2 separate regions of the Homo sapiens genome follow, and region 1 is linked to region 2. The links are contacts of gene promoters, found by promoter capture Hi-C in human tissues and cell types (Jung and others, 2019). All regions are on one chromosome and are shown on one strand. The core of a region is centred on a gene start or on the middle of the fragment in contact, and the rest is flanking DNA. Distances in the headings are between cores, read along the strand shown.

The links. The method cuts DNA at HindIII sites, captures the fragments that hold promoters and counts their contacts. A contact is called where the count stands out against the background at its distance.
Region 1: a fragment that was not itself captured here is called in contact with the fragment with the promoter of AKAP3 in region 2 in 1 of the 25 tissues and cell types used here (mesenchymal stem cells).

What each region holds. Positions count from the first base shown.
Region 1 is chr12:4,123,943-4,129,816 of GRCh38, reverse strand. No RefSeq gene overlaps it. Among named protein-coding and RNA genes, the nearest start is that of LINC03141, 110 kb to the right of the region's middle. The HindIII fragment of the contact is 9,017 bases long and covers 1-5,874 here.
Region 2 is chr12:4,647,801-4,652,997 of GRCh38, reverse strand. It overlaps AKAP3 (A-kinase anchoring protein 3), which reads left to right and starts at 3,947. Exons shown (of 6, transcript NM_001278309.2): 1 at 3,947-4,253. It overlaps NDUFA9 (NADH:ubiquinone oxidoreductase subunit A9), which reads right to left and starts at 3,884. Exons shown (of 11, transcript NM_005002.5): 1 at 3,823-3,884. The coding sequence starts at 3,871. RefSeq lists enhancers at 3,459-4,114, 3,983-4,192, 4,473-4,522. The HindIII fragment of the contact is 5,598 bases long and covers 1-4,059 here.

The DNA of each region.
Region 1 (5,874 bases), core at 985-3,484, 520 kb after region 2:
TGTGAAGATAAAGTGAATATTGGAGTGATGGATTCACAAGCCAAGGAATGCCAAAGACCCCAGCCATCAGCAGAACTGGGAGAGAGGCATGGAACAGAGCACAGCGCTCAGAGGGAACCAACTCTTTCAACACCTTCATCTTGAATTCCTAGCTTCCAGAACTATGAGATAACACATTCTATTGTATTAAGCTGCCCAGTTTCTGGTACTTTGTTAAAGCAATCCTAGGAAATTAATACACTACAGATGCAATGGGAATTAAAATACAATGAGAAAATAATATGACATTTATTGCCAATAAATTTGAAAATTAAAAAAGGGACAAATGGCTAGTAAAATATTAATTGCCAAAAGGTTCAAGAGGAAGTAAAAATCCTGAATATAACTATTTAAAACCATTAAATTGAGGTAATGAACACTTAACAACCTCACTACAAAGAAAATATCAGGGCCGGAGGCCGGGCACGGTGGCTCATGCCTGTACTCCCAGCACTTTGGGAGGCCGAGGCGGGTGGATCACCTGAGGTTGGGAGTTCAAGAACAGCCTGACCAACATGGAGAAACTCCGTCTCTACTAAAAATACACAATTAGCCGGGCATGGTGGCACATGCCTGTAATCCCAGTTACTCAGGAAGCTGAGGCAGGAGAATCACTGGAATCCAGGAGGCGGAGGTTGTGGTGAGCCAAGATCGTGCCCTTGCACTCCAGCCTGGGCAGTAAGAGTGAAACTCCGTCTCAAACAAACAAACAAACAAAAAACAGAAAAGAAAATATCAATCCCAGATGATTTTATAGGCAAGATAGGTCCGACATTAAAGAAAAAGATAATTCCAATATTATTTAAATTCTTCTATAGAGTAGAAGAAAAGGAAACATTCCCCTAGTCATTTTTATGAGGCCAGCAGATGCTTGATACTAAAATTAGATATAGTTGTAGGAAAAAAAATCACAGAACCATTTCACTAACAAACATAGATGCAAAACTCCTTAACACGGTATTAACATATTAACACTAACCATGTATTTAAAAGATAATCAATGAAGACCAAGTTTAATTCATTCCACAAATGCAAAGCAGGTCAGCATCAGAAAATTTCTAAATGTAGTTCATCACTTGATCATTCCTTAAAAGGAGAAAAGCCATATGATCATCTCAATAGAGGAAGAAAGTGTTTAATAACATTCAATATTTCTTTATGATAACCATTCTTGACCAACGAGGAATCAAAGGTGATTTAACCTGTTATGAGTTTTACGTGTGTGGATGCATGCATGCATGTGCACATGCTCACAGACACACACACACACATACACACACACATGCGGTTGTAGTAACTACATATTCAACAGTAAAATATTTTAAAATTTCTCTTTGGGATCAATAGCCGGCCAAGGCTATTATTTTCATTGGTTCGTTCAATGTTGCTGGAAATTCTGGCCAGTACACTACGAAAGAAAAGGAAACGGAAAGAAATGGAAAGGAAAGAAAGAGATAACCTAAAGTATTTTTAGGTTAAATTTTAAGTTAAATTAGTAGGATGAGGCTGGGCATGGTAGTTCCTACCTGTAATCCCAGCACTTTGGGAGGCCAGGGTGGGTGGACTGCCTGAGCTCAGGAGTTCGAGATCAGCCTGGGCAACATAACGATATCTCATCTCTACAAATAATACAAAAATTAGCCAGGTGCAATGGTGTGTACCTGCAGTCCCAGCTACTTTCAGGGCTGAGGTGGGAGGATTGCTTGAGCCCAGGATGTTGAGGCTGCAGTGAGCCGAGATCCTGCCACTGCACTCCAGCCTGGGTAACAGAGTGAGACCCTGTCTCAAAAAACAAAAAAATTACTAAGATGAATAGGAAAGTTTATCAAAGCTGTCAGATAAAAGATCACAATACAAAAGTTAATTTTTATGCACCACCAGGGAATTCACTTTAAAAAAAGGATAACATGAGGGTAACAAAAAGTAAGATACCAAGGAATATTTTACAGATGTGCCAGTCTTTTATGAGGAAAAATACAAAATGTTCTCAAACCTCATTTGGAATGACTACATAAAATGAAGAGATAAGCCATGGCTTGGGTAGGAAGACTCACTCATGAACAACTGCAAATTCTTCTGATTTTGATTTTTTTTTAGGTTCAGTTAAATTGTAACAAAAATACCAGCAGTTGGGTTGTTTTTTGGTTTTGGTACCATGTGGCAGTCTGATTTCAAAATTTAATTGAAGCACAAAAGACCAGGAATAGCTGAGAAACTCCTAAAGAAGTCAAGGTGAGGAGATTATCCTACTCAACATCAAGACTTATTCAAAAGCTATGGTAGTTAAGACAGTTGGTAATGATAAAAGAACAAACAGATCAATGGGACAAGATACAGTTCAGAAACCAATTCATACATATTTAGAAACTTGATATAATATAATACAGAATGGCCACTGAAGATCAGTGGGGAAAATATAGATTATTCGATACATGGTGCTGGGACAGCTGGTTTTCCATGTGAAATTGCATCTATACCTCACACAGTATATGTAATTTTTAAAAACTTAAGATGAATTAAAATTTAAATATAAAAGTCCAAACTTTAGACCTTTTAGCAGAAAACGCTGGCAAGGATCTTTATGAATTTAAGATATGGCAGGATTTTATAAACAGAGCACAATATGTAAAATAACAGAAGAGAATGGATTGATAATTTTGATCATGTTAAAATGAAGAACTTCTGGTCATCAAGTCGCCATTAAAGGAACAAAAAGGTACAGACTGAGAAATGTATTGGTATTCAGCATGTATAAAGAATTCATCTAATCAGTAAGAAAAACACAACTTAATAGAAAAGTGAGCAAAAGACACAAACAGGCGTTTTACATAAAAGGAAAGCTGAGTGGCCAAAGAGTCTGAGAAAGGATGTTTAACCTCTCTAATATCCAGGGATGTGCAAACTGAAACCACAAAGTGTGATTTTTAAGTTAAAAAGTCTACCAGCACCAAGCGTAGATAACGAGGAACACTGAAAACTTTTGTGCGCTGCTGCCGGGTGTGAAGATTGGTATGAGACTCTGGAAAATGGTTTGGTCTTCTCTAGCGCAGATGAAGGTTCTTGGCATATGAATCTTGCTACCTGGGGACCCAGTAACTCCATACCTAGGTTCAAACCCTGGAGAAACTTTGAACATGTACACGATTTTTTTCTTTTTTTGAGATGGAGTCTCGCTCTGTCCCCCAGGCTGGAGTGCAGTGGCACGATCTCGGCTCACTGCAAGCTCTGCCTCCCGGGTTCACGCCATTCTCCTGCCTCAGCCTCCCGAGTAGCTGGGACTACAGGCACCCACCACCATGCCTGGCTAATTTTTTCGTATTTTTAGTAGAGATGGGGTTTCACCGTATTAGCCAGGATGGTCTTGATCTCCTGACCTCGTGATCTGCCCGCCTCGGCCTCCCAAAGTGCTGGGATTACAGGTGTGAGCCACCGCGCCCGGCCAAACGTGTACGCTATTATTAAACATGTACACAAATGTTCACACAGCATAGTGTGGGACAGCTGAAACCTATAAGCAATCTACGTGTCAACCAACAGTAGAATGATACAAAATTATGGTGTACAAACACAAAGGAACACTATACAATTATGAAAATGAAGAGATTGGAGGTATGCATCAACTGGATAGACGGATAGATTTATCACCAATGCAGATAGATCTCAAAATTAATGTTGTGAAAAAAGTAAACGAAGGATATGTAAAGTATGATGCCACTTATATAAACGTCAAAAAATGAACAGTATCCTAATTTCAAGGCTTACTAGAAAGCTACAACAATCAAGACATTGTAGTATTGGTCTATGGTGTAATAGAGACACAGATAAATGGAAAAGAATAGGGAATCCAGAAATCAATCACACATATGTGGTCAACTCACTTTTGACAAAAGTATCAAGGCAATTTAGTGAGAAAGTACAGACTTTTCAACAAACACGGTGCTGGAGCATTTAGACACCCAAATGAAAAAGAATAAACCTTGATTCAGACCTCACACCATATATAAAGAGTAACTCAAAATGGATCAGAGACCTAAATGTAAAACCTAAAACTATAAAACTGCTAACATAAACAGGGGAAAATCTTTGTGACTTTAGGCTATTCAAAGATGTCTTAGAGGACACTGAAAGCATTAACTGTAAAAGAAAAAAGGAATAAAATGGGCTTCATCAAAACTAAAAACTTCTACTCTTTGAAAGCTAAGGTTAGGTGACTAGAAAGACAAGTCACAGAATAAGAGAAAATATTTGCTATATATATATCTGATAAAGCACTGGTATCCAGAATATATAAAGAACATGCACAACACGATAATCAGAAAGTAAACAATCCAATAAAAAAGAGGCACAAAGATTCCAACAGAAACTTCCCAAGAGAAGAGATACAAATTACAAAAAACTGCATGAAAAGGTGTTCAACATCATTAGTCATTAGAATATGCAAATTAAAACATCTATTTATGATTTATTTATTTATTTAATTTTATTTTTTTTTTTGAGATGGAATTTTGTTCTTGTCACCCAGGTTGGAGTGCAATGGTGCAATCTCGGCTCCCTGCAGCCTCTGCCTCCCACGTTCAAGTGATTCTCATGCCTCAGACTCCCGAGTAGTTGGGATTACAGGCTCCTGCCACCACGCCCGGCTAATTTTTGTATTTTTAGTAGAGATGGGGTTTCAGCTTGTTGGTCAGGCTGGTCTCGGACTCCTGACCTCAGGCGATCTGCCCGCCTCGGCCTCCCAAAGTGCTGGGACTACAGGCATGAGCCACCGTGCCCGGCCAAAACTATTTTTATAAGTAGGTATTTCAGAAATATCTGAGAGTGAGGGAGTTCCGCAGGATTCTGAAGAGAGACACAGGTGGCCTCAATGGTTTGGTGGTGTCCTGTGTTTTAAGGTGGAAGCTGAATGGAAATCAGCTGTTAAAACAGGATGGTATTATTCGGGAGGAAGGGATGAAGCCCTAGCCCCGTCCTCCTGGCTTGGAGTCAGGGTCATCAGTCATCCACCCGCCTGGAAGCGCCTAGGGGGAAGTGAGGGTGACCGCAGGTGTGGAAGTTTGAGCAACAAAAGGAGGGACAGGCACTGTTCACTGTCCCCCGAACATCATTCTCCACTCCTCCTTGTGGAGCACTTGAGAATGTAGCTGGAGACAGAGGTAGCCCTTAGTGCTCTCCCCATCCTACCCTTGTATGAGAAGAAAAGAGGCCGGGCGCGGCGGCTCACGCCTGTAATCCCAGCACTTTGGGAGGCTGAGGCGGGCGGATCACGAGGTCAGGAGTCCGAGACCAGCCTGACCAACACGGTGAAACCCCGTCTCTACTAAAAATACAAAAATGAGCCGGGTGTGGTGGCGCATGCCTGTAATCCCAGCTACTCGGGAGGCTGAGGCAGAATTGCCTGAACCCGGGAGGCGGAGGTCGCAGTGAGCCGAGATCGCGCCACTGCACTCCAGCCTGGGCGACAGAGCGAGACGCCGTCTCAAAAGAAAAAAAAAAGTGAAGAAGAGATTACAAACTGGGTTCTTAGTCACAGAGGGGAGCTTCAGGCAGGGGAGCATTCTCGTCCCTCTCCCGCACCTCACCTCCCACACACGCTTTCTTACTTAAAGATACACTGGAGAGGAAAGTCCTTGAAGGCAGGGGCCGCATGAAGTCAAGGGAAAGAACACAGGCTTTAGAGTCAGAATAGGTGCGGAATCCAGGCTGGTTTATGAAGTTAAGCGCCTTTGGGCAAGTTAATTACCCCTTTGCAATCTCTATTTCCTTGCTTATAAAAGTGGGCATAGTAATACTTACCTAACAGTCAGGGCTTTGATGTATTCTGATGTGTTTTGAAAT
Region 2 (5,197 bases), core at 2,698-5,197:
ACACAAACAGGACTTTCTTTAGAAAATCTGTGTTTGTTTCTAGGGATGACTTTCAGGTGGCATTCTGCCCAAAGGTCATTGTTCTTCCCTATCCAAAAGTATTGAATTGGAGAAATAGCCTAGCTCACTGATAGTGACAGAAATTAAAAGTAAACATCATGGACCACACATCATAATAACAAAATAATAACATCATATTAACAGCTACCTTTACAGAGCTCTTGGCAGGTGTCCAGCATTATTCTAAGTGCTGCATAGGTATTATCTTTTTTAATGCTATCTTTATCACCACTTTATGGATAAGGTTAGTGACTAGCCCAAAGCACTAGTAAAGGAGATTAAAAAGCAGTCCCATGAGGTAGGAGAAAAACTCAGAAGGAAACAGAATCTAAAAACCCAAAATAAGAAACTGTTTCAAGGAGAGAATGGTTAACTTTACCAAATGCTGAAAGTGAAGTAGGAAGAGGACAGAGGACCACAGAAGCTGGAGGATGTGGCTGTAGGTGGCATAAATAAGAGCAATTTTATTGGATTAGTGGGACTGAAAGCCAGACTGGAGCAAACAAGAGAGGCTGTGAGGCAAGGAAGTAGATGAGGAGTATACACAATCCTTCTGAAAAAGGAGAAATGGAACTAGAGAAAACAAGGACAGGAATAGGTTTGTTTGTTTGTTTTAAATATGAGTTAACATTTATGTGCTGATGGAAATGACATGATTTCCATGGTAGAGGTAGAAAATTACTGATTCAGGAAAGGGAATGAATAGTTGAGAGAGGATAAGATTGAATGCAAAGTGAAGGAACTGGCCACAGATTGGAACAGAAGGAGCTCACCCACTGTAACAAGAGAAAAGGCAAAGAATTATCACATATCAACTATTAGAGTTTATGGTGGGAAAATGACTGTTCTCATCTGATTCCTTTGATTTCTCTGTAAAGCTGAGAATGAGACAAAAGCACATGTTAGAGGTTTTAGGAAACTCGCTATGTTAAGTAATGATTATGGAGACAAGGAAACCAAATTTCCTAGAAAAATGTAGCACTGAAAATCTACTTGAGATTTGTATTCATGAATTTAAAATAAGGCCAGTTAGTCTGAAGTTTTCCCTAGCCCCGTTCTCCATTGCTCAGTGGCAGGCAGCAAATTACGTGGAAAGTTTTGTTTAATCAGGGTCAATGTTTTTTACGACAATGGGAGTTGGGCTGGGGAGTTGAGGATGCATAAAAGGGAATGATAAGAGTGAAGAGTAAGGAAATGAGGACATAGGATAAGACAGGCAAAAGATGGCAGAGTCAATGAACTGGGAAGAATTACTTGAGTTGAGGAATTAATACCTCAAAGGACTGTTAAGAGGATTAAACATACATAAACCACGTAGCACATTACCTAGAGCACATTAAGCATTCTATGAATAATAGTTGCTTTTATTACTTTGAAATTTCTCAGAAGGTAATGTCACACTAACCTCACATGGCTATTGTTTTTTTTTAATAATTATGGGCCAAGAATTATTCTAGAAACTGTGACTATCACAGTAAAATACAAAACCCTGGCTTCATGAAGCTCACAGTTTAAAGGGTTAATGAGAATAACATATGGGCAAGCATCTGTCACAGTGCCTTGCAAATACTAGGTGCTCAATAAATATAAATTATTACTCTCTTTGGTTCCAGCCTCTCCACTTTCTTCCATTTATTATGAGTACTATTAGAAGAATGATATTCTTTATTAATTATATATTCATTATATTTCTCTGCTTAAAAACCTACATTAGTTTCCTACTGCAATACCCAAACCAATAGTCCAGACATATTTGCTTGCACACTGCATTAATTTTTTTAAGTATTTATTTAAAAAATTATATGCACGTTCTATGTAGTACCAATATGATATACACATTATAAATCATACATTACTTAGAATAGTGTGTGGCATACAGTTTAAACTACATAAGTGTTAGCTATTATTACTATAGAAAGCAATTTTTAGGAGTTCTAATTTATATTTCCACAACTTATTAGGTCCTCTTGCACAACTCCCTTTGGAGACTACCGATCTAAACTCTGCTTGGCTTTCAAAGGTCTCCATTGTCTGATCCCATCTAACACATTCAACCTCCTTTTCCACTATCCCAGATATTCAGGTAGTCATTTCACTGCCTCTTGAATACCTCATGACTCCATTCTCACCCACTTGTCTTTGCCAGAGGACTTTCCAGATCATAACAGCCCTAAAGAGACCAGTGGGAGCACTACAATTCTCCACTGGTCTTCCAATCATCCCTCAGTACCTCAAATGATACTAATCTTTCCCTTTTATGATTTCCTGTGATACTTAATAGTCTTGCCACACTTAACTATATATAGTTGTCTTACACAGTTCTGTCCTATAGTGTGTGGATTATGTTACATACTAGACTTGCCTCTACAGAATTTACTCAAAAACTTACTTTACCAGACAATAACGCAGAGTGGTTAAGAACACAAGCTATGGTGTCAGTCAGAGGAAAGTAAGTTAAAAGAGGAAAATTAATAAAAATACCTAGAACTGGAGATTGCAGATAGCAGGTACTCAATAAATAGTGATTACCATTCACAATCTACATTACGTCATACAATTGTAATAGTTTAACAAGAACCAGCAAATGTCTTTGCAAAGACATTGTGACTACAAAACCATCCACTATAAGTGATGTGCACCACCACCTTCCCAGTGGTATGCAGGAGTTCTACCCAAGATGGAAAACAAAAAAAAAAGGATCCTCTAAACACTCCTAATTCTTGCCTCAGGCTGAACATCAAGCCTATCTGTGGTGCTTTTAAAAATTTAAGGTGCAAGGAGCTAATCTCACAAATTCTGACTCAATAGCTCTACACTCAGTCCTCATTTCTAATTTTTATAAAGCTTTACGAGTGATTCTGACATGAGCCAATTTTGAAAGCAAATGATATTCTGTAACGACTAAAATACACTAAGAAAAATACAACTTTGGGGGTTTGATTGGAATATGTTTGTGGAAGAGTAGAGGGTGAAAGGACAATGATGAAGTGTAACCGTATTTCTAATTTCCTTGCTTTTTAGTGAGTGGAAGGACAAATGTATGTTTTCAGTTTGAGGAGTGGGAGCAGATCCAATCAGAACAGAAGAGAAACTAAATAATGCTAACAAATTCTAACATAGCCTTCATTCTTCACTTTCCTTTCCACCAAGCTCCTGATTCTTCTCTCCTCAAACATCACTCTCTCCCCCAGACCCCAACGCACTTTGCCGAACACATTCTACATCCGTAGAGACGCTTTTGGGTAAAAGGATGCTTTTACAAATATTAGCTCATTTAATCTTATCAGAGACTCCCTGGTATTGTAATATTATCATTTCCATTGTGCTCATATGAATTGAGACCCATTAAGGGTTTGCACAAGGTCATAAAATCAATCTAAGAAAACCTCTCGCCACTAGCCTTTTTTCCCTCCCTTACACATTTCTCCCCCCGCCCCATACAAATATTTCTCATAACCCTAAACCCTTACAACCATATCAGAATTCTGATTCTCTCGATCCCTAACGTGTCCCCCGCATTCTCCTCTTCGCTTACAGCTGCTTAAGATCTTTTGTCCCCTCCCAAGGTGGTGCACAATTGAATATGTGAGCCGGGGAAGCGGAAAGCGAAAGGAGAAACCAGACTGAGGCAGCTCCAAACCTAGAGAAACCAGAGTGTGCCTAGGAAGTTGGCGTGACCGCTGCAGCACGGTGCCACTTCCAAAACCTTAAATCCCCGTCTCGGAATCCCGACCAGGGGCCGCCGTTCCCGGTAACACTTACGTGACATTGACAGGACCCGGACAACCCGGGATTGTGCGGCAGCCGCCATCTTTTCCCACAATCCCCCACGACAGCACTCCCGGCTGACTACGGCTGCTAAGCTGGGTCAAAACTTACCTTTCTCGCCTGTCTGCGCAAGCGCTAACCAAGAAACGACGGTTTCGGGTAGATTGTTGGTTAAGAAGAAAGCTGGGAAAGTGAAGGAGAGGGGGAAGAAAGGAAGTGAAAAGACTTTGGCTGTTGGAATCTCAGATCTGGAATAGGCTGTATAGGCTATTTATAATCTCTAATTGCCGAGGAACCTGAAGTTCAGAGTTAACCAGTGACTGACTCAGGACATGCAAAATGGCAAGACCCGAGGTAGAAGAGCTCACCTTTCCTGACTCTCAGTTTCCTGTTCCCTGAAAATGTAAGCTAAGCTGGCAGCCCTGGTGAGTCCGGAGGAAGAAGGAGGCGTAGCCCTCCGCGCTCAGGAGATCCAGGGCCCAGGAGAGAGAAAAGGGGGGACAAGAACGAGGGGAAAAGTGGAGAAGAGAAACCAAAATAGGGTGTGTCCCAAGTAAATAAATGTGCGTCGAGCCCGCCAAGCACATTCTCTCATAGGGACCCTTGCGCCTGCTGTTCGCGTTTCCTGGAATGCACACTCAGGTGTCTGCACCAGCTCAAGTCTCTGCTCAAAAGTGACCTCTTCGGATAAAACTTCTCTGACCATCCTATCCAAGGTGGTAATTATTCCACCAATTTTTGGTTTAAGTTTATATACCAAAGCACTTATCACCAACTAGCATATGAATCTAGGAGTTCTTAACCAGAAGTGTGATTCATGAGTGGGCTTCGGGAAATCTGTGAACTTCCTGAAATATTATGCAAATTTAGTGGCCATGTGTGCCATCTGAACATCTGTCTAAGGAGAAACTGCAGATGGCTCTCTCTAGCGCAATGGCTTGTAATTTTTTCTTTAACTGTGGTCACCTTTGAGAATCTGCATTGTTCTACAAAGAGCCATCTAGAAACTGAGGAAATTCCAGGTTAGACTAAGCGCTTGGATTTTAAAATACTTTATTCTGGTCAACCTCTCCAGATTGCTGGGTAGGAGATGGCAACCAGTGATCCTGTGAAACATACCTTAGGCTTATCAGAAAACCACCTAGTTTGGGGAGGGCGGGTTCTTTCTAGACTTGGTAATCCTTCCAGTGCTTTGTTTTTTCAGGAAAAGTATGTGTTTCTGGGATAGACAAAAAGGCCTGTGATGAGTAGGGATGTAGAAGTTGCTTATTACTAGGCTTGAAATCTTGGCTGTTTCCACTCTATCTTGCCCCTACTGTTTACTGAAGTGTCGCCTAACAAATTGAATTGGAAGAGAGAAAAAAACCTT